Regions from separate parts of the Homo sapiens genome. Here all the other regions are linked to region 6. Evidence: promoter capture Hi-C in human tissues and cell types (Jung and others, 2019). All regions are on one chromosome and are shown on one strand. Each heading gives the region's core, a stretch centred on a gene start or on the middle of the fragment in contact. The rest is flanking DNA. Distances are from core to core; before and after follow the strand shown. Region 1 holds the start of LOC124905134 (a long non-coding RNA gene). Region 2 has its middle 15 kb from the start of WNT7B. Region 3 holds the start of FAM118A (family with sequence similarity 118 member A). Region 4 holds the start of LOC124905138 (a long non-coding RNA gene). Region 5 has its middle 16 kb from the start of UPK3A. Region 6 holds the start of ATXN10 (ataxin 10). Region 7 overlaps NUP50 (nucleoporin 50).

Region 1 (3,505 bases), core at 306-2,805, 340 kb before region 6:
TGGGCAGCTGGCCTCGGAAATATTGGAAGGGATAGCCGTGCGCGGTGGCTCACGCCTGTAATCCCAGCACTTTGGGAGGCTGAGGCTGGTGGTTCACTTGAGATCAAGAGTTAGAGACCAGCTTGACCAACATGCTGAAACCCCGTCTCTACTGAAAATACAACATTCGCCGGGCGTGGTGGCACACGCCTGTAATCCCAGCTACTTGGGAGGCTGAGGCAGGAGAATCGCTTGAACCGGGGAGACGGAGGTTGCGGTGAGCCGAGATCGCGCCACTGCACTCCAGCCTGGGCGACAAGAGCGAAACTGTCTCAATAAATAAATAAATAAATAAATAAAAATACAAGAAAGGAAAAAGAAATATTGGAGGGGACTTGGGGTCCAGGGCTGGGCAGGGCTGAAGGCGTAAACATGTGAGAGTCTGGAGCCGGATGAGGTCACGAGAAGACAGGCGGGACAGGGACAGCGCCGTGGGTGCCACTCGAGACACAGGGTGGGCGGGGCCGGCCAGGCCTGGAGCTGGCTGCCACCGGCTGCGGCAGGAGGGAGCTGGCTGCCGCCATTTCAGTGGAGGGTGGCGACAACCCCAGTCTGGAGGGGGCTGAGACCTGTGCTGGGGGCCGCCCGGGGTAGATCCTGTCTTGAAGGTCTGGCGGTGGGAGGGAGGGAAGGTGGCCGCGGGTGGAGGTGGGCGTGGCGCCAAGGGCGGTGTTCCCTGAAGAGCGAGAGTCGGAGCCCGCCGGCTGCCGCAGGGAAGGGAGCGGCGGAAGATGCGGAGATAGAGGGAGGTTCCCAGGAAGGCAGAGGGAACGGGCAGGCCCGGAGGAGCAGGCGGGAATGTGGAGGGGGGTTGGAACCGCAGCACAGAGGGTTTGGGCGCACAAAGGTGAAGGATGTCCCCCGGGAAGCCAGAGGGCACGGCAGCAACTTGCCCGGGTCCCAGGCCTGACTTTCACACACCCCCACCCTGCACCTGGACGGTGACGATCTGCTGGGCCCGGTGGCGCCTGGGAAGGCGGCCGGGGGGAGGTCCGAGTTACTGGAAAGTGCAAGTTCCAACCCAGAGCTGCGCTGAGCAGGGCCGGGCTGCTGGGGCGCCCAGGGCTGCAGGTCCTGGCGGGGCCTCTGGGAAGGCGGAGGGCGCTGACTCAGGCCCTGACTCACCAGGGGCTGCCCTGCGGGGGATCTGGGTCCGCCGAGTCCGGGGAACCTCTCAGGTCTGCCCCCCAGCGACCTTTCCTGGGAATGTTCCAGAGCGGTTCTTACTCCTTCCTGGAGGGTGGCTTCTTTCCTTCCTCCAGAGTTCAAAGCCATTTTCTGCACTTGGCCCCATGGCCTCTGAGCTCAGAGTTCACCCCTCATGGAGCTGGAAGGGACGGTTTCTAGAGAGGCCTCCATGCTTGGACCAGGATGAAAATCCTTCACCATCTTCAATGCAACAAGCTGTTCACGGACCCCCAGTGCCATTCTCTCATTCGTGTGTTCAGGCGTCCCTCATGCCCTCACTCATTTATTCAGCCCATGTGTTCACTGGGGGCCCCGTGCAGGGCTGGGGACGCTGCCATGGAGGAGGCGGAGGCACCCTTGCCCCAGAGGGAGCTCCTGTGAATTTCACTGCCAGCAGCTGGGAGGCTGGTGAGAGACTGTGGAGCCTGCGTCGGGCCAGGCCGGGGAAGGCCTCCTGGGTGATGAGGGCGGAGGTGGGTGCAGCTTGGTGGAGGCCAGGAAGCCCCGAGAGGAGGCCGCCAAGGCGTGGTGGGTTGGGGCAGGTGAGGGCAAGGGGGTGGAGATGGGCACAAGGCCTGGCTGGCACCATGGAAGGTGCAGCCACCCAGACCCCCAGAAGGAGGCTGAGTGTGGGGCCGCAGGACACCTGGGGGCCATGGGACAGGAGGGAGGCCCTGAGGCAGTGCCTGCCTGTGGGTTCCCCACCCCTACACCCCCCATCTCAGAACTCCCTCCAGGGCACACAGTCCTCAGCCGTGGTCCCTTCAGGGTTGGCCCGAAGGTCCTGGCTTCCGTGGGTCAGCCCCATCGATCCAGAGCATAAGGTCCAGCCCATTCTGCCCAACTCAGGCCAGCTCTGGTCCCTTTGAGCTGCAGAGCTCGCATAGGGTCAGGTACGCACAGGGTCCAATTGCTGCCCCTGCCTACGCCTGTGTCCTTCCCTTCGGTCCCCAGTGTTGGCTCCAGGGCAGCCCTGACATCCTGCTGGTGCAAGCTTGCCTCGGAGGCAGCTTCCGGGGGCCCATGTGGCTGCCGGGTCAGCAGAGCATGCTGCTGCCTGCCCCTGGGCTCCAGGCTGTTGGGCTGAGACCCCACAAGCTCCCCTGCAGGCAGGCCGGTGGTCCAGCCCCAAGTGGGGAAGTGGCAGCGGGAGGGGTGCTGGGAATGCCACTGCCAGGGAGCCCACAGTGACACAGACCAGGGAGCTTCTGCAGGCCTGGGAGCTGCTCTGTAGATGGCACCCCTTGCCCTGGGCCCCATCCTTATCTCCTTTCTCCTTAAAATCAGAGCCTCTCCCCTGCAGGCCAGCCCAGTGTCCCTCAGCTCTGGGTCCTTCTAGCCTCAGTGCCCCTTGGCTTCCCATGCTGCTGAATCACAGTGATTGGGATGACAGGGTCCCGCCTCCTCTGCCTCTGAGTTCCAGGACCGCAGACGCCATTGTAACCCACGCACCCGCAGAGGCCTGTCTATGAGCTCCTGTCGTGCTCTGGGTCTCCCCAGAAGCCGGCCCTGAAGCAAAGATTCATGTGAGTGGCCCCGGGAGGGAGGGCCTCGGCCAGTCCAGGGCACTCCGCTAGTGGAGTCAGCCACCGCCTGGCCCTGGGCTCTGTCTCGGGAGCCTGAGCCGGGAGGGCAGGCCTCTGAGTTGCCCCTGTGGAGGGCTTTTGTCCCCAGCCCCATCCCTCCCTGGGGGAGGACCGCCTCCCGCACTGCACTCTGGCATTCTGGGTTTGCCTGGCTTGGGGCCGAAGACAGCATCTGTCCACAGTAGCAGCAAAAATACCCTTCACACATGGGCCCAGGACTGGTCACTCTTTGGGGGTGCCCCTTGGGAGGGTGGAAGTCCCACGGGATATGTTGCTGCTGAGCCCCAGTCACTGTGGCTGGACAGAGAAACCCTATTCCTTTATCCGCTGAGATCCTGCTGTCTTCATTCTCCTGAATGGCTGGGCAAGGGAACTGGGTGCCAGAGGGCAGAACTGGGGTAGTGCCTGCCCCGGCCCTCCCAGCCTCTCCCCTCCACTCCCTGTCCCCACCGCCAGCCCCAGCTTGTTCCCCAGAGACCCAAGGGACAGGCTGTGGGGCCTGGCAACTCAGCCCCGACGGGCCCAGTCTAAACCGGTGTTCCGCCAGGGAGGCCCATTTGGCCGTCCGGTTGCCTAAACAGCCCAGCCTTTGTCCGGGGCGGTCACAGGCGCTGTTTGCTCAGTGCCCGGCTTGTTTTTCCCAGGCCAGTGAGGCAGGCAGAGGCACCGGAGCCATGGAAACAGCACAGACC
Region 2 (3,379 bases), core at 142-2,641, 320 kb before region 6:
TCATCACCATCATCACCATCACCGCCATCATTACCATCACCTCCACCATCACCACCAGCATCACCATCACCACCATCATTCCATCACCTCCACCACCACCATCATTCCATCACCACCATCATTACCATCACCTCCACCATCACCTCCACCACCACCACCATCGTCACCATCACCACCATCATTACCATCACCACCATCATTACCATCACCTCCACCATCACCTTCACTACCACCACCACCATCATCATCGCTAACAAGAACAACAACATTTGCCAAAGAAGCCCTCTCAATGGTCATCACTGGGTAGCCCATGGTAGCCGCGGCCATGTTTGTGTGTCTCCCACAAGTACCTCAGGCACCGCTCTGCACTCGAGGTGTTAGGGGAAGGTAGAGTGCAACAGCACTGGCCCAAGACCTTCCCAGAAGCTGCTCCTGAAGAGACAGAGACAGACACTGTGCAGTGGGTCCAGGCTGAGATGGGAAGGCAGAAGGTGTGTGGAGGCAAGGGAAGGGAGCATCTAAGGTTACCTTGAACAACCAGGAGGGCTCCCTGGAGGAGGTGCCAGCCACCTCAGTAGGCTGAAGAGGAGTTTCCTGGTGAGAAGTTTGGAGGAGGGTGATCTAGGCAATGTGCCCCAAAGAGAGCATGAGGGATCAATAGGGACAAAGGGTAGTGGAAACCAGGGCTGGAGCTCAGTGCAGGTCGGTTTGATGAGGGTGGGTGCAGGGGCTATGCTCCTGGGAGCCCCAGGGAAGTGCCTGCAGGGGCCCTATGGGGACAGGGCAGGCCCTATCACCCCATTTTAGAGCAAAAGACTGAAACTTCTGGGAGAAGGCCACTCACCCAATGCCGGTTTGAAGCCGATGGCTGTGTGGCCCCATGCGTGGCTCAGCAGGCTTTGCTCCTGCTCATCTCCGTGCCGTCCCTCAGCCAGGAAGACGGTTTCTTGGACTGTCTGCCTGGCTCACCCTTCAGGGCTCAGCAATGGCTGTCTTCCTCCAGGAAGCCTTCCCCGAACACCCCTGCCCGCTGCCTGTCTCCCTGGGGCTCTCATGGCACTGGGCTCTTGTTAGTTTCTGTGGCATTTTCCTTTGAAGGCTGATTTCTCCCCAAGGCCCTGGGACCCGGCCAGCATGGCCTGCCCATCGAACATAGTTGATGCCACCCCTCCGTCTCCTTCTGCCACCAGTCCTGGTGAATGAGCCCCTGGCCCAAATGGGCGAAGATTCTGCCTCGACAGGCTAGAAGCTTGCCCATGCTCTCCCCGCCGGGATATAACTGTGGGCCCCTCTGCCTGTCCCTCATCTGGCCTTTTCCATGCCTGCCTGGCCTGTGCCACAGGTCCTGGTGGGAGTGAAGGAAATCTTAGCGTCTCATAAAGTCTGCAGCTCTTTCTCTGGGCTTTTATTTTATCTTATTTTTTAGAGACAGAGTCTCACTCTGTCACCCATGCTGGAGTGCAGTGGCATGATCTCGGCTCATGGCGACCTCTGCCTCCCGGATTCAAGCCATTCTCCTGCCTCAGCCTCCCCACTAGCTGGGATTACAGGTGCGAGCCACCACGCCCAGCTAATTTTTGTATTTTTAGTAGAGATGGGGTTTCACCATGTTGGCCAGACTGGTCTCAAACTCCTGACCTCAGGTGAACCACATGCCTCAGCCTCCTAAAGTACTGGGAGTACTTTAGGAGGAGTGTGAGCCACTGCTCCTGGCCCTGGTGGAACTTTTAAAAGCCCAGAGAAAGACCGGGCGTGGTGGCTCACGCCTGTAATCCCAGCACTTTGGGAGGCCAAGGTGGGTGGATCACCTGAGGTTAGGAGTTTGAGACCAGCCTGGCTAACATGGTGAAACCCCGTCTCTACTAAAAATACAAAAATTAGCCAGGTGTGATGGCGTGCACCTGTAATCCCAGCTAGTGGAGAGGCTGAGGCATGAGAATTGGTTGAACCTGGGAGGCGGAGGTTGCCGTGAGCTGAGATCACGCCACTGCACTCCAGCCTACGCGACAGAGTGAGACTCAGTCTAAAGAAAAAAAAAGTTTCCACCACCAGAAACAGCCCTGCTGGATGGATCCTGTGCAGTAATATATCTGTTTTAATAACTCAGTGGTCCGCAGTGCCCTACGACTACAGCACCAGCTGTAGGCAACATAATTCAATTCAGGACCCAGCCAGCACTCTCTGAGCTTTCCGTTTGACTTGCACGTGTTTTAATCTCCTGGGATCCGGATCAGTTTCCTCCTGGCCTGGCTCAATGAGAAGACCACATTTCAGCCACTTTAACTGGTGAGGAAATTAGCTTGATGTGTATATTTGAGGCATGTTGATATGTGTCATGATTCCCACCCCTCAAAATCTTTGTATGTTGGCTCCAGTTCCTGAAAAGAGTGTTATAAAAGCCCCAGCCCCTCCTTTTGCCAGGGACTTGTATGTACCCATTTCCCACCAGGCAGGGAGGGCAAAGGCACCTCAAGCGCTGAGAGGTGGCCCAGGATGCTGCACTCAGGGTACAGCTAAGAGTGCATTAGAAGTGGGGAGTGTTCGGGAGCTGCAGCTCTTTGTGGTCTCAGGCAGCCAGGAAATAGGGTACATGGGCAGGACCCACTGTCTCAGAGGTTAGGCCCTGTCCCTGGCCTTGGCCTGGACTTTCTTACTGCCTGCTTCCATGGGGTGTCTCACCTATGCCCTCCACCTAGCGCCTCCCTAGGGACCCTGGCTGCCCACCTGAAGGGGGTGACGGCTGGGCTGCCTCCCTGACGTGCCATCTGCTCCCTCCTTTGGGCACAGCAACTCTGAAGAGCAATCAGCCCCAGCCCAGGTGGGATCACTGCAAATGTGGCCTTCAAACTCCAGTAATCCTGGCAATGCCCTGGTCTCCGCAGTTAGTGTGACTCGCTGGTTGAGCTGAACACTTAGCGTGTGCCAGGCCCTCACTTAGGGCTTCATGCGCCCACAGATCAAGGTGCTGGGTGTCCTTTCACAGATGGGGAAGCTGAGGCTCGGGGTCACAGAGCCTGGTGGTCCACTGTCCCCGTCTCCAGACTCTGCCCCCAACACCCACTTTCTGTTCACTGTGGACCCAGGATCAGCTGTGACAGCTCCCGAGGAGGCCCCCCAGCACCCTGCTGGGTAGATGGTGTTACCTCCTTAAACCTCCCGGTGATGTGGACATTCACACCTTTGGTTGAGGTGTCCTGGAGAGGAATGATTTGCCCGAATCCCACGGCGTGTACACGGAAGGCCCGGGTTCGAATTGGACTCAGTCTGAGCTGTTGCCCGAAGTCTTCCGCAGCTGTATAGCCTTACAGCTATGAAGGCATTTTCTGGGCCTGGGTTGGAGCCCACCCTCACGCCCTGGCCACTGCCTCCTGATGGCCTG
Region 3 (3,425 bases), core at 497-2,996, 360 kb after region 6:
CAACTCCCGCCCCTCTCCTCCCAAAGCCCTTCAATGGCCACCCACTCCCTTTAAGTACCAAACCCTCCACTCAGCTTAAACTGGGCATGCTTTGGTCCTGACTGGCTCTCAGAATCACACCCTCTTTCTTGTCACTCCCACCTCAAACCCAGTACTCTGCAAAAGTCCCAGCTTCTCCCATACCAGGTCTCTAGCGAGACACTTCCCTCACTTCTCCCCCTGACCACCTCCCACCTTCCTTCAGCTCAGCTGGATCATTTCTCAGGACAATGGCAGGTGCAGTCGTTCAAGAAAGGGCCAAGGGCACGGTGGGCCTCCGGGAGCAAAGCTGGGTTCTCCGCAGTTAGCATTCACTCCCACGCCACCTTCATTAGGTGTGCTCCAGCCACACCTCCCGCCTTCCAACACTGTGTGCCGTGGCAGCCTCTCTGCCTTTTGACATACTGGCTGTCCCCTGAAACTCTGCCTGGAATGACCCTGGCAAACTTCTCCTCTAGCTCAACCTTCAAGAATCAGCTCACCTGCTGCTTAGCATCTCCTCCCCACGACTCCTAAGACGCCCTCCTTAACACCCACCCCTTCCCAGAATCCCATGCCCACCCAGATGGGTTCCCTGCCAGCGACGACACAGCTTCCTCCAGATAAAAACGACCTACTTGTCTTATGCCCCAGGTCCCTAGGCCCTGACAGCAGGGACCGTCTCATCTCTATTTCCAGTGTCAATTCCTGGAGCCTATCAGGCATTCAAAAACAAAATGTTAGTTCCTTGAATGAAAAAATTAAGGAGGAGACAACCTAAAAGCGTCCCCATGTGCCCTAACTCGCTCCCTCCCCGGTTCGGCCGCCCTCGGCCACCTCAGGTCTCCTGCTCTATAGACTGTCCTGTGGGGCCACCTGAGTCTCAGCAGAACATTAAAACTTAAACCCGGCCCTGCACCTGCAGGCGCGGGGACCACAGCTTAGGAGGTGGTCGTCGGGCGCGCTGTTACCGTCTTAAGTTATCACCAGACCTGGGAACACTTCCACCCACGCCCCGCAGGTCCAGGGACCTCAAGTTGGAGAAACCTAGCCCTGAGATCAGGTCGGAGAGGGAGCCTCAGGGTGGGCGGCACGGGGACCCGGGGTCTCGCGGGGCTAAGGACACTGGGAACCACGGCTCCCCACAGGAAGATGCCCCGGGCCTGGGGGCTTCTGAGGAGGTTGCTGGAAGCAAGTCCCAAGGGAACCTCGAGAGTTTCCGGAACCAACAGTTCTCAGGGCCCACTAGCGGCCGGGGTCCTCAGGGGGTCTCGGAGTCCAGAGAAAATCTTGGAGTTTCGGGGTTCGCGGGCCTGGAGGGGCAGGGCGGATCCTGAGGGGGTCTCGGGGGCAGGGGCTCCAGGGGAAGAGCTGAGAGGGAGTCCTGGGGTGGCCCCGGGGCCGGGGCGGATCCTGAGGATCTCGGGGTCCCCAGGGGCTCCGGATGCAGGGACCGCGGGCCCGCCCCGCCCCCTCACCTGCGGCGCCTCCGAGACGCTGGTCCCAGCTCGCGCTGCCACCTCTTCGCCTCCGCAGCCGGCTACGCCTCCGGGGTCTCTCGGCGGCCGCGCACCCCTGACGCTGGGCGGGGCAAGGGGATGGTTCTCGGGGAGGGGACTGCGCAGGCACGCGGGCTAGAAGCGAGAGCGAGAGCCGGAGTCGGAGCCAGAGCGGACGCCACGCCGCCTCCAGGCGCCCCTCCGCGTTAGCCGGCAGCGGCGCCGCCGCAAACCCTTCCCCCGCGCGCCCGCCCCAGCCGCGTGAACGTTCCGTCCCGAAACCAACGGCCCCGCGGTCCCCGGAGGCCCCGCCCCGGGGAAGGGCGAAGCCAGGACGCGCGCCCCGCCCCGCCCCGCCGCCAGATCCTCTGGCACCGCCCACCTCGGTGACCACGGTCCCGCCCACCGGGGAGGCCACGCCCCCGGGGTCTCCAGCGCAGGCGCGGTCGGATGTGCGGGGGAGGGCTTGCGCTGGGGAGCGCTTGGGCCTAGAGTCCGCGTCCTAGCCCTACCTGGCCCGGCGAGCCGCGCGTCCCGTTTCCTCATTTGCAGAAAGGGGGCGGGAGCACTTTGCAGGGACGTGGCGAGCATCAAGTGCGATCGGAAGCGCTCCTTTGCAACTGCATCCTGCACCACACTTAGGCACAGCTTCTGTCCCCAACCCAGACCTGAGGCTGGTCTCCGTCCCCCAGCAGACTCCTGCCCGCTTAAATTGGCCAGTCACCAGCCCTACCTTCTTTCTTTTTCAGAGTACTTGTCACTCTCCGAAATTAGGTACGCTTGTGACTGGCTCCCACTTCCCCTGAGAGCCGGTACCTTGTCCGTCTTGTCCACTGGGGGTTCCCAGAAGCCAGCACGGCGCTGGGCACACCATGGCCGCCCACATGTTTGTGCGTGCGTGAGTGTCTTCCCCGCGCTCTTCCCTCATCAAGAAATACTCTTCCCCGAGGCTGAGAATTTCTCCTAAAAATACAAGAAATACTCTTCCCCAGCTTAGGTTCGATCCGGCGAGGCCCCCTGACTCCTCGCGCATCCCTGTCGCAGGTGCCGCGTCCGTAAAGGGTGTGATCCTAGCACCTACCTTGTGGGTATTGCGAGGACTGAGATTGTGCGTGGGTGGGCTGGGCACGGGCCCCCTAGCGATCTTATTACTCCTCCTTTGTCTGCCACTGAAGTCTTTTACCTAAACAAGACCCAATCCACTTCCTCTTCCCAGCCTGCCCTGCCCAACCTGGAGTCATTTATTACTTCCTGTCTCCTTGGCACCTTTTTTTCCTGCCTGATTTTAAAGTTGGCTGTTAATATCTCCCCCTACCCTAGCCCACCAGAAAGCTCTCATTTTGTGACAGAAGGTAGTGTTGTGTTAGCGGCCTGTGAAATTTTAGGGGGGGCCAGAGCCCAGAAAACAGTGGGAGCAGTGACTCTGGGATGAAGAGGGCAGCCCCTGGGTGCTCTGTATGTGGGGTCAGGCACTCCCTGAGCACTTTGCATGCGTTCCTTCATGGTGTTCTTGGAACAACCCTATGAGGAAGGCGTCTTCATTGTTATTCCAGTTTAACAAGGGGAAGCTCAGGCCCAAGAGGTTGTGTAGTTCCATGCCTCAGCCCACACATGTAACCACCACTGCATACAGCTCCCCAACCCCTGGAGGTGCGACTTAAATGCAAAAAAAGGCCGGTGGCTCACGCCTGTAATCTCAGCACTTTGGGAGGCTGAGGCAGGTGGATCACCTGAAGTCAGCAGTTCCAGACCAGCCTGGGCAACCTGGCAAAACCTCATCTCTACTGAAAATACAAAAATTAGCCGGGCGTGGTGGCGGACACCTGTAATCCCAGCTACTCGGGAGGCTGAGGCAGGAGAATCACTTGAACCCGGGTGGCAGAGGCAGCAGTGAGCTGAGATCATGCC
Region 4 (3,431 bases), core at 72-2,571, 470 kb before region 6:
AACCCCATGGGTCCAAGGTAACAAAGTATTGTCATACTAGGGGACAGAATCTACAAGAGTCCCACAAGGCAGCTGTGCTTATGCTCATCTTACAGATGAGGAACGAAGGGCCAGGAATGGCAGCATGTGGCCAAGGTCCCCGGCAGGGAGTGAGAACTCTCCCGAGTCCCAGTCCATCAGCACCTGGCCCTGGGTACCCCCGGGGTTCGGTTGTCTGTTGCAGAAGCTGTCTGTTGGCTGATACGGCAGCCTCTGGCAGACTCAGGAGCCCAGGGTCAAGGATCAGATTTCCCTGGTGGCTGCTCCTGGCCCCACAGCTCCAGGGGGGTGGCAGCAGCATGTGCAGAAGCCTGTGGCAGGAGACATTCAAGGGGAGAGAGTGTGGAGATGGCACAAAGCGGGCAGAGCTGGGCAAGGCCCTGGCCAGGCAGGTCTTGCAGCCCAGTGAGGAGTTTAACTTTGGTCCTAAGGGCTGTGGGACACCTGCCATGGAGGGTTGTCAGCAGAGGCATGACTCCATCTGATTAGCACCAAGTGCTGCATGCTACATGTTAACCAGTGGTCACAGCTGAGGTGGTGGGGAGGGGCTTAAGCTGTGCACCCATTCTAGCTTTGCAGGATCTGGAAGCTTCCGCAGGTCCAGAAACTGCTGCTGTCATGACACTGTACCCTTTGAAAATTAACCAGTCCCCAGCTTTGCAGCAGGGCCCATTCGACATGGCTCAGATGTCTGTCTCTGTAGATCTTGAGAAGAACAGGGCAGCCCACCTGCAGCTGCACTGCCTCCCTTCTTTGCCCCTCCAAAGGGACAGGTGTCCACCTCGTCACACAGGATCCAGCTCCAGGGCTAGATCATGGATGTTGTTTATCCAGTCCAGGACATGGACTGGAAGCTGCAGGACCCCTCCCTGTGTCATGCTAGGTGCCGTGGGAGTCTCACTGCAAAGTGTGATGTGTAGATAGACGGATTTTCTTTCTTTACTTTTCTTTTCTTTTTTCTTCTCTTCTCTTCCCTTCCCTTCTCTTCTCTTCTCTTCTCTTCTCTTCTCTTCTCTTCTCTTCTCTTCTCTTCTCTTCTCTTCTCTTCTCTTCTCTTTTTGAGATGGAGTCTTGCTCTGCACTTATGTCCTTGCTGGAGTGCAGTGGTGAGATCTCGGCTCATTGCAACCTCCATCTCCCAGGTTCAAGTGATTCTCCTGACTCATCCTCCTGAGTAGCTGGGATTACAGGCACCTACCACCATACTCGGCTAATTTTTTGTATTTTTCATACAGACAGGGTTTCACCATGTTGACCAGGCTGGTTTCGAACTCCTGACCTCAGGTGATCCGCTCGCCTTGACCTCCTAAAGTGCTGGGATTACAGGCGTGAGCCGCTGCGCCCAACCAGATAGACATATTTGGTCCATAAAGGACAATCTGCTCTGTGTGGAGTTGGATTCTGCAATGATCTGACCCAGTGGTTGGCAGTGAGTGGCACTGCTGCGGCCAGGGAAGACTGCAAGTGCAGAGATGAGGTCTGGCATGACAGCCTGGAAACACACAAGACAGGCAAGCTTACGTGCACAGCACCGTGCCACGTGGGCACTGTCCCCCAACTTTCCCTCATGGAATGAGTGGGTGCCTGGGGTTTGGAGTTCAACAGAATTGGATTCAAATCCTCCTGTACCTTTTCCTCAAACTACAACCTCCAGCCGGTGATGCTATCCGAGCCCCCTCATCTCTAAAATGGGGCAGGGACGCCTTCCTGGATGGGTCCTGGTGTGAGTTTGAGGAGGGAGCACGGGGGTGGTGCAGGGTGGGGCCTGATGAGTGGGTCATATTTGGGACATGGTAACCACCAGCTTGAGGGCTCTGTCAAGAGTTGCCTCCTACAGGAAGCCTGCTTGGCAACCGTCCCCCTGCCAAAGCTGCCCTCTGCCTTGTGTGGCCACCACCTCCTGTGTTCCATGCGGCTCTTGTCGCATCCAGCACCATCTTTATGGCGGCCCACTGCCCGGTCCTGTCTCTCCACTCAGGACAGCCGACAGGCAGGCCTCATGCCTCGCAGACACCAGCCCCAGTGCCTACGTGTCTCCCGCCCGTGATCCCCTGTCCCACCCTATTATCTGCCTTTCACCAAAGCATCCTGCCAGCCAGGAAAGGCAATCTGAACCGGAGCCTGTGCAGCTGAGTGGAAGGGGGGCTGCCCTATTGCATTGCTCTGCTTGGGTTTCACTAAAACGTGGGATTGGGCCATGGTCCCTCATCTCCTGGAAGGGACAGGTCATGTTTGACAAAGTTTTCTGGGTCTGCAGCAAAGTGAAAAAAACAAAACAAAACAAAACAAAAAAACAAAAAACTGACATTGTGAAGAGTTTCCTATAGAACTTCAACTAGCTGATTTAAAGAAATACCTCGGGGCCAGGCGTGGTGGCTCATGCCTGTAATCCCAGCACTTTGGGAGGCCGAGGCAGGTGGACCATCTGAGGCCAGGAGTTCGAGACTAGCCTGGCCAACATGGTGAAACCCCATCTCTACTAAAAATACAAAAATTAGCTGCGCATGGTGGCACGTGCCTGTAGTCCCACCTACTCTGGGGGCTGAGGCAGGAGAATCGCTTGAACCCAGGAGGCGGAGGTTGCAGTGACTGGAGATTAGCCTGGGCGACAGAGTGAGACTCTGTCTCAAAAAAAAAGAAAAGAAAAGAAAAGAAAGAGCCTTGGGCTGGGCATGGTGGGCCTGTAATCCTAGCACCTAGGGAGGCTGAGGCAAGTGGATCACCTGAGACAGGAGTTCAAGACCAGCCTGACCAATATGGTGAAACCCGTCTCTACTAAATACAAAAAATTAACTGGGCGTGGTGGTGCATGCCTGTAATCCCAGCTACTTGAGAGGCTGAGGCAGAATTGCTTGAACCCTGGAGGCAGAGGTTGCAGTGAGCCAAGATTGCGCCATTGCACTCCAGCCTGGGCAACGAGAGTGAGAGTCCATCTCAAAAAGAAAAAAAAAAAGCAATAGCCTTTTTTTTCAGGCCAGGCATAGTGGCTCACACCTGTAATCCCAGCACTTTGGGAGGCAGAGGCGGGAGGATTGCTTGAGGCCAGGAGTTTGAGACCAGCCTGGGCAACATAATGAGACCCCGTCTCTACAAAAAGTAAAAAAAAAAAAAATTAGCCAAGCATGGTAGCACGTGCCTGTGGTCCCAGCTACTCAGGAGGCTGAGGTGTGAAGATCACTTGGGCCTGGGAGGTCAAGGCTACAACGAGCTGTGATTGCACCACTGCACTCCAGCCTGGGCAACATTGAGAGGCTCATTTCTTTTCTCAAAGAAAAACAAGACAAATATCCTTTTCCTTCCCAAGACTATATCCTTTATATTCTTTTGTTGTTGTTGAAAATACCTTTCCTTAGTGGGAATTGCTTAGATGAAGTGCTGATATTGGTTAGCTT
Region 5 (3,890 bases), core at 775-3,274, 400 kb after region 6:
TATTGGAAGCCGATGCCCCCATCCTTAGCCACTGTGTGACACTGCCTCTGGCATATGCATTCATTCATTCATTCATTCATTCATTCACTCATTCACTCAGCCGACACGCGGAGCTCCTGCTTCCTCAAGTCAGGACCTTGACTCCCACCCCAGAATGAAGAGTTCTCACCCAGGAGAGGAGGGCAGCCATGTTCTCCCTTGCCCCCAACAATTCAGCCCTCTCCTCCCTCCAGGAGTTCCGGGTCAGGAGGATGGGGGGGAGGACAAACACAGGTGCATCCCCACCTCAGGGTTACATGAGAGGAGTGTGAGAAAAGAGGGTCTCAGGGACTTCACGCAGTGCTGTCCTGGGGCCAGGCAAGCTTCGCTCCTTTCTCTCCCGCTTCCTTGAGCACATGACAGTGACCCTGAAGGCCTAATAGCACTGCTCACTACTAACCCCTACTGAGCACTTCCTCTGTGGTCCACTCCCTCCTGAGTGCACCACAGGCAGTTTCCCGAATCGTCCTGAGAATCCCAGGGGTGGCTCTGACATCACCATCACACTTTACACATGAAGAAATTGAGGCACAGAGAGGCTGAGTAGTTTACCTAAGGTCACACATCCATGGAGCGTGGAGCTGGAATTTAAACCCAGGCAGTCCGCTTCCCTCTGTGCCTGAACCAGTCACCTGGTGCATGTGTGAGCCTGATGCCAGCACGGGACCCCGGGGAATGAAAGGCTGAGTATTTGCAAGACTTTCTGAAACCACTAAGTCTGCAAGGTTGCAAATGAGTGAGAGATTACTACAGGGATAACTGGAATCTTCTCTATTATTCGTAAGAAAATAGTTTTCAAATATCTTTAAGTACTTTATTATTGCTCACAATATGAAGACAAGTCTCACAAACGATCCCCCACCCCAACTGAACAAGGGAACAGGGAGAGACTGTGAAAAGCGGGGAGGGTGTTAGATGCAAAGGCTGGGCTGCAAGCTGGCCTACTAAGGATCACCTTCAGAGCCCGAGGTTCTGCAGGAGGAAGATTCAGCCCTCAGAAGTTATAGATGGGGGCTGACAGGCTGGGGCAGGAGCCAGGGAGCCCAGTTACTTACTGAGCGTCTGTGGTCCCAGGCTCTAAGCAAAGGTGGGTGGAGGGACAGGACTTCCACCATCGATCATCTGAGTAAGCTGCCTGGGGCTCCCGGCTCCCAGATTTATTCACCTGAAACCCACTCACCACGTGCTAGGATCGTGGGTGACCCAGCCCCATCCCGGCCGGGGGACTCACTGTCCACTGTCCCAGGAGAAGAATACAGAGTGACAGTGTGGCCAGGGGACCTGTAGGAGCCCAAGGGAGGTGCCTGGTTCAGCCTGAGGCTCGGGAAGGCTTGCTGGAGGCGGTGGTGCCTCGACTAGATCTTGAACGGGGAAGGTATTCCGCGTGTTCCCGGTGGAAGGAACAGTATGCACTACGCCGGGAGGTGAGAAGTGCAGGGGGTCGGGTTTGGGTGCAGCCGGGACCGCAAGGGTGGGCCGGGGCCGGGAGAGCAGGGTCCTGGCTGTGGAGCGCGGCTTCGCCGCCCGGGGCCTGCCCCCGCCCCCGCCCCCGCCCCCGCCCCCGCCCCCGCCTCCGCCTCCGCCTACCCAGGCTCCGCCCCCACCTCCTCTCAGCCCCGCCCCGCTGGCGCGTGGAGCCTCGCGTTGGTGTCGGGCGCCCCCTGGCGGCGCAACGCGGGCGGTTCGGCCGGGGAGGGGGCGGTGCCGCGCCCACAGCAAGGCTGACTCCCCCAATTTCTATTAGCATCAGAAGAATGCCCTCTCAGGGGGAAGCAATTGTTTTCGCGTATAATTTCGACACATTTGCCATTATGGCAGCGCAGTCGCGAGATGCTTTTGCTTTATTACTTTTTTTTATAATGGAGGGAGGGTCCCGCCCAGTGTCTAGGGTTCAGGGCCCGCGGCCTCCACGATCCGGGTACGACCACAGGCGGGTGCCCACCCAACTCCATCCTGGCCTTCTTCGCCTCACTTCCAGGGGCTGCAGGGGACACCGAGCTCCTTTTCCTCTCAAAGGTGCAACAAAAACCCAGCGAGCACTGCTGCGTGCCCGGCGCTGCTAGGGACATCAGGAGAGGGCAGAAGCCTGTGCTCCCGGAGTCGCCTTTCAGCAGGGACGCGGTCAGCAAACCCACGGCGCTCTCCTGTGCTGGGAGAGACGAGGGCAGGAGATGGGGCGGGCGAGGGGCGGGAGGAATGGGGGCGGGCGAGGGGGATGGGGGCGGGTGAGGAGTGACGGGGGTGGGGGCGGGTGAGAGGTGAGGGGGGTGGGGGCGGGCCAGGGAGATAGGGGAGGGTGAGGGGTGAGGGAAGCGGGTGAGGGGAGTGGGGCGGGTGACGGGGATGGGGGCGAGTGAGGGGTGAGCGGGTGGAGGCGGGGCTTGCGTCGGTGGCCTCACCAGAAGGGACTGTGCGGGGACCTGGAGGAGGGGACAGAGGGAGGTTGGGGAGACTGGGAAGATCTTCCAGGCAGAGGGAACCTCACCGGCGGCTGTCAGGAGGAGGGAGGGGAGAGGGCTGGGTGATGAGGTCAGCAAGGGGCAGGGGGTGGAGGATGGGGGGCGACGGGGCGGGGCCTGGCAGCCCAGGACGGTTTTGGAGCTCGGGGAAGGTCTGAGCGGAGGGGCAGGGGCAGCGGTTGGAAGGCTGCAGGCTGGCGGGGAGGGAGAGGGGGACAGGAAGCCCAGCAGTGGCGGGGCATGCATCCTCTCCCTTCCACCCCCTCTTTCGGACCCCCTCTCTCCTAGGCTCCCCCACTCAGCTCCCACAGATCCTCTTGCCCCAGGTCCTTCCTCTGTGTGCGGCAGAGGGAAGGACCATGCGTGGACATGGGCGGGAGGATCATTTGAGCCCAGGAGTTCAAGACCAGCCTGGGCAACATAGTGAGACCTCATCTCCACAAAAATAAAAGATTAGCTGGGTGTGGTGGCGCGTGCCTGTAATCCCAGCTACTCGGGAGGCTGAGGCAGGAAGATTGCTTGAGCCCAGGAGTTCAAGGCTACAGTGAGCTATGATAGTGCCCCTGAACTCCAGCCTGGGTGGCAAAGCAAGACCCTGTCTCAAAATAAAATAATAAAATAAAATAAATCACACATATTTGAAGTATACAATTTGATGAGTTTTGAATATAGATGTATATTCTGTGACTCCATCACCACAGTAAGATAATGACCATTTCCGTCACTCCCAAAAGTGTGCCCCTGGCGGGGCCCGGTGGCTCACGCCTGTAATCCCAGCACTTTGGGAGGCTGAGGCAGATGGATCACCTGAGGTCAGGAGTTTGAAACCGGCCTGACCAAACATGGCGAAAACCCGTCTCTACTAAAAATACAAAAATTAGCTGGTGTGGTGGCAGGTGCCTGTAATCCCAGCTACTTCGGAGACTGAGGCAGGAAAATCGCTTGAACGCCGGACGCAGAGGTTGCAGTGAGCCGAGATCGCACCACTGCACTCCAGCCTGTGTGACAGAGTGAGACTCCGTCTCAAAAAAAAAAAAAAAGAAAAGAAAAGAAAAAGAAAAAGTATGTCCTTGTCCCTTTGTAATCCATTCCCTCTTCATCCCCCCTCCCCTCTCCTCCACCCCACCCCCATCCCACCCCCAAGCAACCACTGGTCTGCTTCTGTCACTATAGATGAGACTGAGATTTTCAGAATTTCATGTAAGTGGAATCATAACATGTGTTCTTTTTTGGTCTGGCTTCTTTCACTCAGCATAACTATTTTGGGGTTCATCCATTTTCTTAGATGCCATTAATAGTTCATTCCTTTTTATTGCCGAGTAGTATCCAATTGTAGGATATGCAACTGGATATGCAGTTAGCTGATCCGTTCACCTGTTAATGGGCGCTTTT
Region 6 (3,832 bases), core at 306-2,805:
TGCTCAGACCAGGTGTCTAGTTTAAAGAGAGGAAGTCCTCTAGTGATCACCTAGGCTGACCCAAGTCTCAGTATTTCTTTCTTCAATGTTCCCTCTGCTTTGTACATACATACCCCCACAGCTGTGTTATCTTGTACATACTAGTACAGGAGAGAGCAAGGACTTTCCATTTTCCTACCCCATCACCTAGCACAATAGCTGATACATGGGTAACTACCAATCAATGTGTTAAGTGATAATATCAGCTACATTTAGTGCTATGTACAGGTATGTCCTAAGGATTTAATATGCATTATATCTCATTTACTCCTTATGACACTATCACCAGGGAGGTACTGTTCAACTTTACTCCCATTAAATAGACAAGAAAACTGAGGCCCAGAGGACAGAACAAGATCAAACAAGCATTGACTGAGGGCTTCGCACATTTTATATTTTCACGTACTTTATTTCATTTATTCCTCTGTACAATCCAGCAACTAAGCTGTGTATTATAGTCCCATTTTTAGACAAGAATTCTAAGGCCTGGAGAAACTGCACAGTAACACGCAGCTTGCAAGGCCAGGAACCAAATCCACAACTGTCGACTCCTGGGCACCTTCTCTTTTTGCCTGGCTATCTTGCCCCTCAGTGGCATCAGGACTGGACTGGTCTCTCCAGGCCCGTGCTCTTCCACACTGCACAGAGCGCTGCCCCCAGGGCAGATGGTGCAGCCTGGGCTCTAACGCCGAGGAGAAAGGAGTGCCAGTCCCACTCCATGCCTAGAGACTGCCATCCCCGCAACTGCCCAATTCCCGCGTCCGTAACACGGGTCTCTCCCGCTAAAACACACGCTTTATGACTCTGGGGGCCGCGTGGGTCTTGCAGCCAGGGCCTGGCGCAGCCCTCGCACATGACAGGGGAGGCCTAACCGTGTGTTGGGTCAACATCACCGGCACGCCGCGGCAAGGGCTCCCGGGATCGCGGCTTCGCACCCGGACTGGCTGCGGTGGGGGAGCGGGGCGCCCGCCCCAGGCCCCGCGGGGACCCACGAGCACGAGGCGGTGCCTGGGAGTCGGGAGGCCTGGGTGGCGCTCAGGCAGCCCGCGCAGGCCTCGCCCTCCGCGTCTCCAGCGAGGCGGGGGCGGCGCCTGGGTCCAGGCCGGGGCCGCCGCGGGAGTCCCGGCCGCCCTCCCCTGCCCGGGGCAGCCCCCCGGCCGGACCCGTTACCGGTTCCGCTGCTCTTTGAAGAGCGCCGTGAGCGCGCGCAGGGCCTCCAGGTCTTGGATGGGCGCCGGCACCATGACGCCCGACAGCCTGGCAGGCGGCGGCCTGGGCGCCGCCATCTTGCCGCTCACAGCTGGGTCGAGCCTGACGAGGAGGAGGAAGGCGAGGAGGACGAAGGGGGAGGATGACGAGGAGGGAGGAGTAGGATGGCGAGGAGGAAGGGGGAGGCCTCGCCCTACACAGCCCTAACCGCCGCCGCCGCTGCAGCCCGCGCTGCCCTGAAGCTGCGCCGCCGCCGGAGAGCTCTAGGCTGAGCCCAGACTCGCCTCAGGCGGGAGGAGGAGACGGCGCCGCGGGGGAGGGGGCGCCGGCGGAAGTCCCGCCTGAGGGGAGGGGGCGCGGCGGAAGTTCTGGGTGAGAGCGGGGAGGGATGCTGGGGGTGATTGACTGGGAAGCGTCGCAGACGGGGCTCCTCCGAGGGGAGGGGACGCCGGGGGGAGGGGGACCTGTGTTGATGTGGCCGTAACAGGGTCTCGGTCTTGGGAGCGGGTATCGGGAACCAGAGGTTCACCCTGAGAAAGAGGGGCGCGTCCTATAGGAGGGTGCCCGCGGACAGAGGGGTCTCCCCCAGGGGAGGGGATCCGGGGGGTAAGGGGCCTGTGGAGGGTGGGGCCGTAACAAGGTCTCGGTCTTGGGAGCGGGTATCGGGGACAGAGGTTCACCTTGAGGAAGAGGGGCCCTCCTGTGGGAGGGGGCCCGCAGACAGAGTGGTCTCCCCCAGGGGAGGACATTCTGGGTGGAGGGGACCCTCTTGGGAGGAGACGCTGACTGAGGGTCTCGGGAACGAAGGGGGCCGGGCAGAGGCTCCCACTGCTAAGGCTGAAGACCTTGATCCCACTGCTCAAGTGGGTTGATCAGTGCCCCCGCCCGGGTCCACTGGAAGCTGGAGCGGTCTGTCACTAGCTTGCAAGTCTCAGGCCCTGAAAACGCACTTCCCAGTACTTACTGATCATTGCTGATCAATACCAGACCACTTACCAGGCACTTTGCCTCTAGTGAGTATACATTGCTCCAGCTCCTCAAAGCCTTAAAATACCGTTCGAAGTCAAGAAGCTAAGTTACACAGCAATAGGGTTAGAATTGTTTTTTTTCCTAAGGGAAATGAATATATTTCACAGGAATCAGACAAGGCTTCTCTAGCTGGTGTTGATAACTCACATATTTTCTTTCCACTGCCCTTTATTACAGTGTATATACTTTCAACAAAAATTGTTGCTAAGCCCTGCGCTAGGTGCTGGAGATGTAAAGATTAATAAAAGACAGTTCCAAACCTGAAGGAACCTCACAGACTATTGAGAAGGAGAGAAGCAAACATAACTGAGTATAGTTGTGAACTGCTATAACTGTACAAATTGCTGTGGGACCACTTAAAATATATAAATACATACCCTTTACATTCTGCTTGGAGGGTAGGAGTGTGCTTATAACATGGCGCTTTTAACATTCTTTGCTAAATAAAATGTAAAGATAACAATAAACACCACCAGAGTATGCAGAAAAAGTGAATCCTGGTGGGGCATGGTGGCTCATGCCTGTAATCCCAGCACTTTGGGTGGCCAAGGCAGGAGGATTACTTGAGCCCAGGAGGTCGAGGCTGCAGTGAGCTGTGATCACACCACTGCACTCCAGCCTGGGTGGCAGAATGATACCCTGTATCAAAAAAAAAAAAAAAAAAAAAAAAAAAGGAGGGAGGGAAATGAATGCTGCTGCACAAGCAAGTTACTTGATATTGTCATTCAGTTTACCCATTTAATTGAGTATGTATTTATTCATTCCACGAATATTGCGGTGTACTATGTGCCAGGTATTAGATCACTTATTAGTAGCAGTGCTCAAGACAATGCAAAATGTTTAACACTCCTTAAGCTAACAGGGCAAAAATCTCTTAATTTTCCCTTGAGGAGCACAGGATAGTAAAATGTACTTGTTATGCACCAAAATCCTGATCTTTAGGCCAGACACGGTGGCTCATGCCTGTAATCCCAGCACTTTGGGAGGCCGAGGCGGGCAGATCACTTGAGGTCAGGAGTTCAAGATCAGTCTGGCCAACATGGCAAAACCCCCTTTCTACTAAAAATTAGCCAGGCATGGTGGCGGGTGCCTGTAGTCCCAGCCATTTGGGAGGCTGAGACAAGGGAATTGCTTGAACCTGGAAGGCACACGTTGCACTGAGCTGAGATCATACCACTGCATTCCAGCCTGGGCAACAGAGGGAGACTCTGTCTCAAACAAACAAACAAAAAAACCTGGCCTTTAGTTTTCTTATTCTCAAATGTAACATTCCCAGAAAAACATTCCCTATAATATTCATACTTCTTGCCTGGAATATTGTAATATATTCCTGATTGGTCTTTTGGCCTCTGCTCTTGCTTCCTTACGTTTTAGATCGTTTAAAAAATATTTCAACATTTAACTCTGCCCAAAACCCTCTAAGGGATTTCCATTTCACTCAGAGTAAAAGCCAAGTTCTTCCAATAGAAAAGCCCCTAAATGACCTGCCTCCTCCTTCGCCATCACCTCCAGCCCCTGTGGGCTCTAATCACATCTACTAGCCTCTTCCTCTTCC
Region 7 (3,904 bases), core at 1,072-3,571, 500 kb after region 6:
GTTCAAGACTACCCAGAACCACCTGAGAATCGATTTCATGTAGGATTACGTATCTCTGCCTCGAATTACACTATATTGGTATATACAGTAATATATTTTAGGAAAATTGCGAATACTTTATTTTTATAATTTGAATTGTTTTCCCATTAACACATACCACCATTTATGAGACGCTCTGAGTGACTGGCTGTTGTAAACGTCTTACTGACTGCCTCCCCACCACTGCCACCTACCTGGCTCCCTTCCTTACGTTTTCAAACTTTAATACATTTTATGATCAAAACTTTGGCAATGTAATGAATATTTTTGTAATAACAATTTCTTTTCATTGCTTCTCAAAGTGTGAATGATACACCTTTCCTATCCTTTTTTTTTGGAAATAAAAGGGAAATAAGCTTGCATGTCCCTTAAGGAGAACGCTCAGGAAAGTAAGTATTTCCGCTCCCAGGAAGTCTGCATTATGCTTACTGGCACGGCACCTCTAACCTGACCATTTGAGATCCTCCAATGACTATTTCCTTGGAGCATCACGTTGGTGCTCAAAAAGCTTCAGATCTTGGAGCATTTTGGATTTCCAGATTAGAGACACCCAAGAATATAGTCTATTCTTGATGTTTTAAACACTGCAAAACGTGAGGTAGGGTAGGTTTATTTCAAAGCTGCCACCCAGGATATTCAAAGCGGCATCTCCTGCCTAACACCAGATGTCCAGGCCACCAAGACCACACTCTCCTGGGTCTAGAATGTATCTGAAGGGAGAGGATGTACTGGGGACGAGTTCTTAGATGCGGAGTGACTGCTTAATAATCAGCACATTATTTCAATTTAGGAGTTACAACTCATCTTCCATCCTTCTTAGCACAGGAATGAATCATTTTAATATACTATACTAGCAAAAAATCCACACCTAAAATGCCTCTAGTATAGTGAAAGGGCTCCCCCTACCAAGGCCTCAATCGCAGGGAGCAGACAAGACTCTCAGAAGATCCTTGCGTTTTCCTTTCTTCCTCCAATCTGATGCCACTTCGCCCACCTCTGTATTGCTTTGCTCATTTTTCTTCTCCAGATTGTCACTCAACTTGAATTTGTCTATATTTATCTTATTTCCTCAACTGGATAAGCTCTCTTTAAGGTCCAGACCTGACGTTTCTTATTTTTTTCTATCTCCCATGACCTACATCAAAGAATAAGTATTTTAAGAAAGCATTTGTTGATATCATTGCTCCCAGCGGAGGGATTGCTGTGCAACCCAGAAATCAAATGAGTATTTAATAGCAAGAGCTGTAAGGGGGCACTCACTTCAAATCCAACATTTCTGCGCTTTGCTTTCTTTATGGCTCTATTCTTCAAGACTTCCTCACTGGCCATGGAGAATGTTCCCACCTGCAATACAATACAAATTAAGCAGCAGTAAGATAAAGCCAAACAGATGACAAAATCCTCAACAACAACAACAAGCTAGAACTGAGCCACTGTGTCCGGCCTCTCAAAAATAAATTTTGGCCAGGCACAATGGCTTGCGCCTATAATACTAGCGCTTTGGGAGGCCAAAGGTCAGGAGTTTGAGACCAGTCTGGCCAACATGGTGAAACTCTGTCGCTACTAAAAATGAAAAATTAGCTGGGCATGGTGGTGGGCACCTGTAATCCCAGCCACCTGGGAGGCTGAGGCAGGAGAATCACTTGAACCCTCCGGGAGGTGGAGGTTGCAGTGAGCCGAGATAGCACCACTGCACTCCAGCCTGGGCAACAGAGCAAGACTGTCTCAAAAAAATAAATAAATAAATTTTGTTATTTATAACATACACATGATTTTTAAGATGAGTCCTGCCCAACTTGCCCACTGTACGAAAGGCCACGGAGGCACCTAGGACCTTGCTGGACAACCACTGCTCTTCCACAGTGCGCTCAAAGCACACTCATGTCCACACTTCTGATGTCCACGTCAGAAAGCTGCTGAATATCTTCGGCTTTAGTTTATAGCCCTTCTTTTACCCTGTAGGGTCGGAATAAAATATTTCTCATGCAAAAATTCTCACCTATAGTTGTTTCAGATCATATTAAACTTAACGGGCTCCTACACTCATAGAGGGGACCATCTGGCTGCACTTGCCCCAAGTTAAATGTACTTAACTAAATGTAATCTTTCCACACATTTCATTGGCATATGTTCGAATGGGAGTTCTTTCATTCCTGAATATTTTAATGTCTAAGCAAATAGTTACATGGTAATCTAGATGTTACTATAGCCCAGAATGTAACTGTGCTTAAGATCTTAAACCAACAACAACAAAAAACCAAAAACCCCCATAACCAAAGATTTTAGTTAAAAAGCACCAAATCAGTTTTGACCCTGTCAAAACACTCACATCCTTGGGATTCTGGTTTCCCTAAACATATGTGAGGAGATACACTTGTAGAGAAAAAAAGTACTAGTACCAGAAAGATTCCAAAAGAAGGAAGATGGCCGTCTAAGAATAAGCTTGGAAACAGTTGCAGTTTTAACATTTTTCTTTTTTCACTTAGCACTATGCTGTTAACCTGAAAGTCGTGGTTACAGATTTCCTTAGTCATCTGGCCTGGGGGTAACACACTGCTGATAAGGTACGACTGTAGAGTCCAGCCCTACTGGGCTTTGCGGGTGTTCTCCTCGAAGGGGGAAACAGAGATTGTAAGAAATAAAGACACAAGACAAAGAGATAAAGAGAAAACAGCTGGGCCTGGGGGACTACTACCACCAAGACACGGAGACCGGCAGTGGCCCTGAATGGCTGGGCGTGCTGATATTTATTGCATACAAGACAAGGGAGCAGGGTGAGGAGGATGAGTCGTCCAGGGGATTGACAAGGTCAAGCAAGTCACGTGATCATGGGACAGGGGCCCTTCCCTTTTAGGTAGCTGAAGCAGAGAAGGAAGGCGGCGTACGTCAGCATTTTCTTCTATGCACTTATCAGAAAGATCAAAGACTTTAAAACTTTCACTATTTCTTCTACTGCTATCTACTAAGAACTTCAAAGAGGAACCAGGACTACGGGAGGAGCATGAATGTGGACAAGGAGTGTGACCACTGAAGCACAGCACCACAGGGAGGGGTTCAAGCCTCTGGATGACTACTGGCAAGCCTGGACAATATCCAATCTCCCACAAGAAGGTGGTGGAGCAGAGTGTTCCCTGACTCCTCCAAGTAAAGGAGACTCCCTTTCACGGTCTACTAAGTAACAGGTGCCTTCCCAGGCACTGGCGTTACCACTTGACCAAGGAGCCCTCAAGCGGCCCTTATGCGGGCGTGACAGAGGGCTGGCTCACCTCTTGCCTTCTAGGTCACTTCTCACAATGTCCCTTCAGCACCTGACCCTGTATCTGCCGGTTATTCCTTGGTTATATTAGTAGTACAACAAAGAGTAATATTAAAAGCTAATGACTAGTAATGTTTATACTAATGATTGATAATGCCCGTGATCATCTCTGTATCTAATTTGTATTATGACTATTCTTATTCTAACTATTTTATGTATTATACTGAAACAGTTTGTGCCTTCAGTCTCTTGCCTCGGCACCTGGGTAATCCTTCGCCCACATCCTATAAGTACAGCTGTGTTTTATTCTTTGTTTTTTAGACAGGGTCTCACCCTGTTGCCCAGGCTGGAGTGCAGTGGTGCAATCACAGGTCACAGCAGCCTTGAACTCCTGGGCTCAAGCAAACCTCCCGCCTCAGCTTCCCAAATTGCTGTGACTATAGGCTCATGCCACCATGTTCAGCTAATTAAAACAATTTTTTGGGGGGTTGGGTGCGGTGGTTCTCGCCTGTAATCCCAGCACTTTGGGAGGCCAAGGCGGGTGGATCACTTGAGGTCAGGAGTTTGAGACCAGTCTGACCAACATGGTGAATCCCTGTCTCTACTAAA

The links. The method cuts DNA at HindIII sites, captures the fragments that hold promoters and counts their contacts. A contact is called where the count stands out against the background at its distance.
Region 1: a fragment that was not itself captured here is called in contact with the fragment with the promoter of ATXN10 in region 6 in 1 of the 25 tissues and cell types used here (lymphoblastoid cells).
Region 2: a fragment that was not itself captured here is called in contact with the fragment with the promoter of ATXN10 in region 6 in 4 of the 25 tissues and cell types used here (IMR-90 fibroblasts, dorsolateral prefrontal cortex, lymphoblastoid cells and 1 more).
Region 3: a contact is called between the fragment with the promoter of FAM118A here and the fragment with the promoter of ATXN10 in region 6, in 1 of the 25 tissues and cell types used here (heart right ventricle).
Region 4: a contact is called between a fragment that was not itself captured here and the fragment with the promoter of ATXN10 in region 6, in 1 of the 25 tissues and cell types used here (bladder).
Region 5: a contact is called between a fragment that was not itself captured here and the fragment with the promoter of ATXN10 in region 6, in 1 of the 25 tissues and cell types used here (aorta).
Region 7: a contact is called between a fragment that was not itself captured here and the fragment with the promoter of ATXN10 in region 6, in 1 of the 25 tissues and cell types used here (hippocampus).

The regions. Positions count from the first base shown.
Region 1 is chr22:46,011,279-46,014,783 of GRCh38, reverse strand. LOC124905134 (a long non-coding RNA gene) reads right to left here and starts at 1,203. Exons shown (of 2, transcript XR_007068136.1): 1 at 974-1,203; 2 at 1-287. RefSeq lists silencers at 672-761, 912-1,101. The HindIII fragment of the contact is 5,321 bases long and covers 1-3,505 here.
Region 2 is chr22:45,990,105-45,993,483 of GRCh38, reverse strand. No RefSeq gene overlaps it. Among named protein-coding and RNA genes, the nearest start is that of WNT7B, 15 kb to the right of the region's middle. RefSeq lists an enhancer at 422-921. The HindIII fragment of the contact is 8,090 bases long and covers 1-3,379 here.
Region 3 is chr22:45,308,255-45,311,679 of GRCh38, reverse strand. FAM118A (family with sequence similarity 118 member A) reads right to left here and starts at 1,746. Exons shown (of 9, transcript NM_017911.4): 1 at 1,497-1,746. RefSeq lists an enhancer at 1-684 and a silencer at 1,401-2,080. The HindIII fragment of the contact is 15,582 bases long and covers 1-3,425 here.
Region 4 is chr22:46,144,082-46,147,512 of GRCh38, reverse strand. LOC124905138 (a long non-coding RNA gene) reads left to right here and starts at 3,285. Exons shown (of 2, transcript XR_007068140.1): 1 at 3,285-3,431. The HindIII fragment of the contact is 4,597 bases long and covers 1-3,431 here.
Region 5 is chr22:45,266,988-45,270,877 of GRCh38, reverse strand. No RefSeq gene overlaps it. Among named protein-coding and RNA genes, the nearest start is that of UPK3A, 16 kb to the left of the region's middle. RefSeq lists an enhancer at 733-1,384 and a silencer at 1,575-1,804. The HindIII fragment of the contact is 5,158 bases long and covers 1-3,890 here.
Region 6 is chr22:45,669,557-45,673,388 of GRCh38, reverse strand. ATXN10 (ataxin 10) reads right to left here and starts at 1,555. Exons shown (of 12, transcript NM_013236.4): 1 at 1,210-1,555. The coding sequence starts at 1,325. RefSeq lists silencers at 923-1,252, 1,583-1,632, 1,693-1,882. The HindIII fragment of the contact is 16,564 bases long and covers 1-3,832 here.
Region 7 is chr22:45,169,079-45,172,982 of GRCh38, reverse strand. NUP50 (nucleoporin 50) reads right to left here. Exons shown (of 8, transcript NM_007172.4): 3 at 1,300-1,383. Among named protein-coding and RNA genes, the nearest start is that of NUP50, 7.1 kb to the right of the region's middle. The HindIII fragment of the contact is 3,699 bases long and covers 472-3,904 here.